Regions from separate parts of the Homo sapiens genome. Here region 2 is linked to region 1. Evidence: promoter capture Hi-C in 16 types of primary human blood cells and fetal thymus (Javierre and others, 2016). All regions are on one chromosome and are shown on one strand. The core of a region is centred on a gene start or on the middle of the fragment in contact, and the rest is flanking DNA. Distances in the headings are between cores, read along the strand shown. Region 1 holds the start of KRT12 (keratin 12). Region 2 has its middle 4.0 kb from the start of GAST.

The links. The method cuts DNA at HindIII sites, captures the fragments that hold promoters and counts their contacts. A CHiCAGO score of 5 or more calls a contact.
Region 2: a contact is called between a fragment that was not itself captured here and the fragment with the promoter of KRT12 in region 1, in 1 of 17 cell types (non-activated CD4 T cells). The highest score is 5.3, in non-activated CD4 T cells.

What each region holds. Positions count from the first base shown.
Region 1 is chr17:40,865,196-40,869,377 of GRCh38, forward strand. KRT12 (keratin 12) reads right to left here and starts at 2,028. Exons shown (of 8, transcript NM_000223.4): 1 at 1,425-2,028; 2 at 960-1,042. The coding sequence starts at 1,991. All of the region lies in intron 1 of LOC105371777 (a long non-coding RNA gene), which reads left to right. The HindIII fragment of the contact is 7,860 bases long and covers 1-4,182 here.
Region 2 is chr17:41,706,199-41,710,492 of GRCh38, forward strand. No RefSeq gene overlaps it. Among named protein-coding and RNA genes, the nearest start is that of GAST, 4.0 kb to the right of the region's middle. RefSeq lists an enhancer at 1,971-2,498. The HindIII fragment of the contact is 527 bases long and covers 1,076-1,602 here.

The sequences.
Region 1 (4,182 bases), core at 778-3,277:
ACCAGCGATGAATCCCAATACCACAGCATCCCAGGGAATAATTTTCCCTTTGGCTGGCTGCCGTGGCTGTAAATAGCAGCAGCCCCTCTCTAAGTGGAATTTCTAAAAGCCGTTGAAAATAAGTTACTCTTTTTGCTTAACGTTCTTCATGATTTAACTTAAAACACTGATACTTCTTTAGTGGCTTTGACTAAGATTTTACAGGTTCAGAACCATGGCCATTGCAACTTCCTGTGTAGAAATTTTGTGAAGCAAAAAGGAAATTAGTATTTCTTACCTATATCTGGGAGAGTTGAGCATGGAAAAGGAGGAAGGAATATAAAAATTAGTACATGGTTAATCTTTCCATTGTATGTGTCATCAGGAAAACAATGGTTGATACATTGAAAATTGAGGTTTAGAGGCGGGTGGATCATGAGGTCAGGAGTTTGAGACCAGCCTGGCCAAGATAGTGAAACCCCGTCTCTACTAAAAATACAATAATTAGCTGGGCACGGTGGCAGCCGCCTGTAATCCCAGCTACTCGGGAGGCTGAGGCAGGAGAATCACTTGAACCTGGGAGGCAGGGGTTGCAGTGAGCCGAGATCGCGTCACTGCACTCCAGCCTGGGTGACAGAGCGAGACTCCATCTCAAAAACAAAAAACAAAAAACAAAAAAAGAAAATTGAGGTTTAGGACACTGGTAGGATTATGGTGTCAGTCACATCATGAGTTGAGTCAATAGCACACTACAAATATCGTGATCCATAGCCCTGGGTTTAAGTAACTTATAATTTAAGGACATTTAATCTGAATTGCATTAGATTCTAATTACTTTCTAGAACACCCTATGTGAATTTACCAAAACAGTAAATATATGGAGTATGTGAACTTCAGAAGATTTTATATCAATGAAGGCAGGACAGTAGGACAGAAGACATGGTGGGACACGCCCATGATCTTCAGTTTATTCGACTCACTTCATCCTGAAGTCCTCAGCAGCTAGTCTCGCATTGTCAATCTGCAAGAGGAGCTGGGCATTTCCAATGCTGGCTGAAATGATCTGGCAAAAGAGAGGGACACACACAAGATTGAAGCCCTAAAAGACTAGTATTATACAAATATATTTTTGACACAAAGGTGAAAATGGTGATATTAAATGCTGTTTTATTTAGAGTTTAAGACAGTTTCATTTTTCTAAGACAATATCTGTATAAAATAATATTGAGAAGTAAAGAAATGCAGATTTCCTACAGAAAGATAATGGAAATACAATCATTTCTTAGTAAATGATAAAGTGGAGTGAAACAACCTGGGATGAGAAAATTGCTGCAAGTACAGCTAAATTGGAAAATATCAAAGTTGTAGGTGATTATCACTGTAAAACATTGTAATGGTAAAAAGGAAAAAAAAAATTCCCAAAGCGCCTCCAAAAGAGATCTTACCTTATTCCTGAGGTCTTCAATCAGTGGATAATATTTGCTGTAATCGCTCTGTGAAGCATCTGCAGTCCCAGTTCCTCGTGTTTCATACCATTCTCGAATTTTATTTTCTAGCTCAGTATTAGCCTCTTCTAGAGCTCGCACCTTATCCAGGTAGGAAGCTAATCTATCATTAAGATTTTGCATAGTTTCTTTTTCTGATCCAGAAAGAAGGCCTCCATCATTGCCCGAGAGAATACCTAGAGAGCCACCTCCTGGGCTGCCCCCAAATCCCATCCCCAGCCCTCCAAAGCTACCTCCACCCAGGGCTCTCCCATAACCAGCACCCAGTCCTCCTGCCATGGAACTTCCGGAGCCACCCCCAAAGCCGGAACTAGAACCAAACATGGAAGCAGCAGAAAAGCCTCCCCCACAGCTGGCTCCAAAGCCAAAGGCACTTCCCCCATAACCACTTCCAACACTGGAAGCAGACATGCCCCTGGGTCTGCCTATCACACTCTGCGAGGAGAGCCGCCGGGACAGTCCGGGGGTGCGCACTGAGAGTGACATGGTGTTGTTGGAGAGATCCATGGCCTGGGGAAGGTGGCCACAACTGGAGAGGAAGTTGTGCCAGCAAGCCAGAAAGCTAAACTTATATAGGCTGCAAGATGGGTGTCGCAGTTGAAAAGTTCACTTTCTCCACTCAAAATTGGATCCTCCCCCCAGGTTTTTGGCCAGCTCAACAAGTGAATGATTTATGTATAATGAAAATTCATTGATACAGAAATAATCGAATAATCATTTCCATTAAATATTTGTTATATGAAAAAGAAAGCTGGGTGGAGTAGAGTCTGCTTGTCATAAGGAATTTTTCTTCTCCAAATTAGTCTGTTGCCTGTATTCCCAGCACTGCCTAGCGTCTTGTTCACAGTAGGAAGATAATGAGCGATTGCTGAATGGATACGTTAAATACTTCTTCCTAAACCTTATGCTTTTTTAAGTTCTTCCCTGATCTTTTCTGTTTGTTTCCTTTGGAAAATCCAGTGTAAACCATTTGTTTCCTTTGGAAAAACCAATCCAATGTAAAATCCAGTCATGATCAAGTATACCTTTTAGTGGAATACAGCTTCAGAAGCAGCTGTGAAATGCACTGGTGAAAGGTGGAGAATAAATATATTTTCCAGATGGATACTAGAATTTGCATTTTCAAGGATTTTAAAACCTTGGCTTTAGGATGTTGCATGTTTCTTTTCCCTCTTATTCTTCAACTTGGAAAAGTACTATTTTTGAGTACAGTTGTTTATAGTAGAGTTTATTATAGTTGTTTTAGCAGTTTTACCTTGTCTGATTGCTCACTGCTCTACACTCAGCATTTACTATGTTTATTCCTTCAACAGATATTGCCTGTAATGGTTGCTCAATAAATGTGTTGACTAGTTGAATGGATTGTGTAAACACTTCAGATTTTGTTGCCATTATCAATAAGGAGAAAGTGGAAACACAGTTCAAATTAAGAAATGATTAAAACCCCAAGTTTAAGAGGCTAGTGAACCATTTCAGTTGACTGCTATGATGAAAAAGGATAAATTTTACAATATAGAATAAATTAAATGTTATATTTTAAACTTTGTTGTGAAAACTTTGCAAAGCGTGCTTCAAGGAATTATATCCAGTATCTTTAATTTTTAAGACATAAAGTTCTTATACTTTCTTGTTTGGTATATTATTTATCTTTGAAATTGATATGGCTTATATATTGAACATGAGAACTAACGTTCTTACAGGAAATGCATTAACTTGAAAGAAGCCTGCTTTCAGAGAGAGTTGTAGATACCTGGAAACCGAGTAGTACAATTCCAGGGTGGTGGAATTCCCTTAGGAATTTAAATTGTGAGCATTTTGATTGGATAAGAAGGAATAAGGATTTTTCTTTTACATGTTTTCTTTGAGATGATGGCCCAATTCTCTACATGTCTCATTGCAAAATAGTTCTATAGTTTTTTTTTAAATATAGCTCTCTATGTATTTATAGTAGGAAATTTAGAAGATGCAGAAAACATAAAGAAGATGTATGTATATATGAGTATTTTATATACATTTTTGAACATAATTGATTCAATATAAGATTTTATAATCTGCTTTTCTCTTAAGATTATATACTTATCTATCACTTGAACTTTAATAATTGGGTACAGAACATGGATTGTGGATTCTTCGAAATCCTTTGTTGGATTCAGATTTCTAAATTCAGTTTGCTCTGTATTTGATGATAGGAAATAAAATTTCTGGGTGTAAATAACAGTTTTTTTGCAAAGATGTTTATACTGAATTTTATTAATAAGGTATACACTGACTGTGTGTGCTATAGACATATATGTATTTTGACTAGAATGGATTTATTGAAATAAAATACATTAAAATCATTGTAATGATACATTTCCTACCTCGTGGGAAACAGGGCCTTCATTTCTCCATCAGGGACCTCTGTTTGCTTATAGATGGCCACTAAAACTCCTTTTCAATTTGGTATATTTGGATTCTGCGTTTTATTTTATTCTAAGGAAAAGTTTTAAAAATATCACAAGTATTCTAGATTTCTAAAATAAAATTGAATTCTTATTTGATTTAATAATACATACCTTTCATAAAAAGGAAGATTTTTATTTTTATTTATTTACCACTACTGGATTTTTTTTAAAAAATTTCAACTTTAATTTTAGATTCAGGAGGTACATGTGCAGGTTTGTTACGTGTGTATATTTCATGATGCTGAGGTTTGGGG
Region 2 (4,294 bases), core at 89-2,588, 840 kb after region 1:
GGGCTTTGGGAGGCCAGGAGGGAGGATCACTTGAGGCCAGGTGATCCAAATACAAAGCCTGGGCTGAGAACCACTGCTTCGAAGGCACAGGTGGGCATCAGAGGAGAAAAGGAGAGAGGAGGCTCAGGAGAGAAGCGGAAGCCAGAGTAAGGGTAGCCACTACTCTCTGTCCTTGACAGCCCAGCCTGGGCCCAGGGGTGGTGGGCAGCCTCTCCAGCCCAGTCTGCAAGCAGCTTGCAGGCTGCCCTCTTGGCCCTGCCATGTCACCACTCTCAGACAGCAGCTGAGGCCAGAACCCAAGAACCCACCTCCCCCTACCTAGCCCCCTACCCCAGGGGGGATCATGGATGCCCTCATTGATGCAAACACCTTCCAGGTGTCACTGTTTGTCCCCAGAACTACCACATCCTCCAAAGCCCTGGTTGCCTGGGCCAGAATGATTGAGTCGTCATCAAGCTCTTCCTTTTCTGCCATCAATAACCAATTAGGAAGCCAAGGCACTGCCTCCCTGACAACGGTTTGCAGCTCATCAATAGTGATCTGTTTCCCAAAGCCAGCCCTGGCAGGCAGGAGTGTGCCTGGGTCCACTGAGAAGCCTCTCCCTCCTCAGGGAACAGTCTCCTTCACAGGGGACCCTTGTTTTTCTGTTACTCTTTTTTTTTTTTTTTTTTTTTTTTTTTTTTTTTTTTTTTTGAGACAGAGTCTCACTCTGTCGCCAGGCTGGAGTGCAGTGGCACGATCCCAGCTCACTGCACCCTCTGCCTCCCAGGTTCAAGCAATTCTCCTGCCTCAGCCTCCCAAGTAGCTGGGACTACAGGCACACACCACCACGCCCGGCTTTTTTTTTTTTTTTGTATTTTAGTAGAGACAGGGTTTCACCATGTTGCCCAGGCTGGTCTTGAACTCCTGAGCTCAGGCAATCTGCCCACCTTGGCCTCCCAAAGTGCTAGGATTACAGGCGTGAGCCACCACACCCGGCCGTGTGTTACTCTTTTATGCCCCTAGAATCTAAACTCCACCAAAGCAATGAAAGGGTCTGTCCTGTCATAGTCACCTGTTTTTTTTTTTGAGACAAAGCTTCACTCTTGTTGCCCAGGCTGGCGTGCAATCGCACAATCTCAGCTCATTGCAACCTCTGCCTCCCATGTTCAAGCAATTCTTCCACCTCAGCCTCCCAAGTAGCCAGGATTACAGACGTGCACCACCATGCCCGGCTAATTTTGTATTTTTTAGTAGAGACAGAGTTTCATCATGTTGGTCAGGCTGGTCTTGAACTCCCAAACTTAAGTGATCCACCCACCTCAGCCTCCCAAAGTGCTGGGATTACAGGCGTGAGCCGCTGCACCCAGCGCTGTCATATTCACCTCTTATCCCCAAGTAGCCTCATCTGTACCCTAGCTCACAGCAGGTGCTCAGTAATTGGAATGAATTTGGAATATTCGGATGGTCAGAATAACTCAAAGAACAGCTCCCTTCTTTGTATTTGAAAATTTACATGGAAATTCATGCTGGGCCAGTTTTTACTAAACAGAAACCTTCACAAGGCTGTGATCCCTTGTATCCATTTTTGATTGCTACCATAATAAGTCACCACAATTTAGAAGCTTAAAACAACAGCAATTTATTCTCTCGCGGTTCTGTAGGTCAGAAGTCCTGGTACAGAGTGGCTCACGGGGTCCCCTGATTAGGATCTCCCAAGGCCACAATCAGGTCGGCAGGGCTGCATTTCTTTCTGGAGGCTCTAGGGATGAATCCACTTCCAAGCTCATCCAGGTTGTTGGCCAGATTTCATTCTTTGTAGTTGCGGGGCTGACATTCCTCTTTCCTGGCTGTCGGTGGAGAACCTCTCAGCTCCTCAAGGCCACTGCTTTCCTCGTCCTGTTGCCCTCCTGCCATCTTCAGACCAGCAATTGCTTGTGGAGTCCTCATAACTCCAGCTCTCCGACCTGACCTTCAGCCACATCTCTTCTGCCTCTAGCTGAAGAAAGTTAAGGGCTATGTGATTACACTGGGCCCAGTCAGATAATCCAGCATAAACTCCCTAATTTTTTTTTTCAGAGACAGGGGTCTCACTATGTTGCCCAGGCTGGTCTCAAACTCCTGGGCTTAAGTGATCCTCCTGCCTCAGCCTCCAGAGTAGCTGGGACTACAGGCATGCACCACTGCACTTGGCATAAGCTCTCTATTTTAAAGCCAGTAACCTTAATCACACCTGCAACGTCTCTTTTGTTATGTAATCACATATTCACAGGTTCCAAGGATTGGGGCAGGAACATCTTTGGGGACATGATTGTTCTGCCTGCCACATTCCTACTGGGAGGATAGAGACCTGAGTTTCAGACCCACCTCTCCTTTTTGGTGTGTGGACTCAGGATGGGGATTACTTCACCTGTCTAAGCCTTAGTTTCTACTTCTTTTTTTTTTTTTTTTTTTTTTTTGAGACAGCGTCTCACTCTGTCTCCCAAGTACAGTGGCACAATCATGGCTCACTGCAACCTCACCTCCCCGGCTCAAGCAATCCTCCCACCTCAGCCTCCCAAATAGCTGGGACCACAGCCACGCACCACCACACCCAGCTAATTTTTGTATTTTTTGTAGAGATGGGGTTTTGCCATGTTGCCCAGGCTGGTCTTCAACTGTTGGGCTCAAGTAATCTGCCGGCCTCGGCCTCCCCAGGTGCTGGGATTACAGGCGTAAGCCCCCGTACCCATCAGTTTCTTCTGAAGAAGGGGTTCACACTAGCACTTAGGTCCTAGGATCATGGTGAAGAGTGATTGCATTCATTCATGCTAAGAGCTTATCAGTTCCTGGTACACGGCATTGTTATCGTTGTGATGACAGGGGCAGGGCCCACACACCTGCACCCTCGAGGGGGACGGAGATGGGTCCCAAGGTCTGGGATCTGGTCTTCAATTTGGTAGGCCCAGAAATTGAATTTTCTGCTCACCCAGCTAGTCGGTGTTAGAGCCATGATTCAAACCCTGGCCTCACCAGTTCCAAAACCCCCTGTACACCAGGAGGTCCAGCTTCCATAGACTCTATCCCTGCTGCCTCTTTCAGTGGCAGTTGGGCTGAGGTCCCTCTGAGTCACAGCTGGCAGGAGGGAAACCCTTGGATTCACAGAGTGATATGCTTAGGGAATTACCCTCCTTTAAGCCTTGGGGAAGGAGAACTCCCCCAAGTGTATAAAGCGTGTGCACAGACCTTGTCACCTCTTCCCTTCACTGCAGCCCTATGAGGTACAAATGAATGATTCCTATTTCCAAATGTGGTTAATTGAGACCCAGAGAGGATGGGGGAGAAGACGCAAAATGGATTAAATACCTGCGATATTCTCTTTTGTTTGTCTGTTTGTTTGAGACAGTCTCACTGTGTCACCCAGGCTGGAGTGCAATGGCACAATCTTGGCTCACTCCAACCTCCACTTCCTGGGTTCAAGCAATTCTCGTGCCTCAGCCTCCCAAGTAGCTGGGATTACAGGCATGTGCCACCACGCCCAGCTAATTTTTGTATTTTTAGTAGAAACGGGGTTTCACCATGTTGTTCAGGCTGGTCTCGAACTCCTGACCTCAGGTGATCTGCTTGCCTTGGCCTCCCAAAGTGCTGGGATCACAGGCATGAGCCACCGCACCCGGCCAAATATCTGCAATGTTTTGAGCACCGTGCAGGGCGCTTTATGTACATCACCTTCACGAGACCCTCCTCCCCAAGTTACTTTCCTCATTTCCTAGAGGAGAAAACAGCTCAGAGAAGGAGAGAAATATGCTCAAAGCTCAACAGCTGGAAAAAGACAGGACCAGGAAACCCTTCCTTTTCCATCAGACGAGGTCCCCTCATGAGGAGAACGTGCAGTCCGTGACTGGGGAGCTCCTCAGGGTCAAGGATGCTCATCTCTGAATGCAACCCTTCCCCTGCAGACCTGGCAGGGTCTGCAAATAGTGACATTCTTTTTTTTTTTTTTTTTTTTTTTTTGAGACAGAGTCTCGCTCTGTCACCAGGCTGGAGTGCAATGGCATGATCTCAGCTCACTGCAACCTCTCTGTGCCTCCCAGGTTCAAGCGATTCTCCTGCCTCAGTCTCCCGAGTAGCTGGGATTACAGGCGCCCGCCACCATGCCCAGCTAATTTTTGTATTTTTAGTAGAGTCAAGGTTTCACCATGTTGGCCAGGATGGTCTCGATCTCTTGACTTCGTGATCCACCTGCCTCAGCCTCCCAAAGTGCTGGGATTACAGGAGTGAGCCACCAAGCCTGGCCAAATAGTGACATTCTAACCATTGCCTATGGAATAGGAGA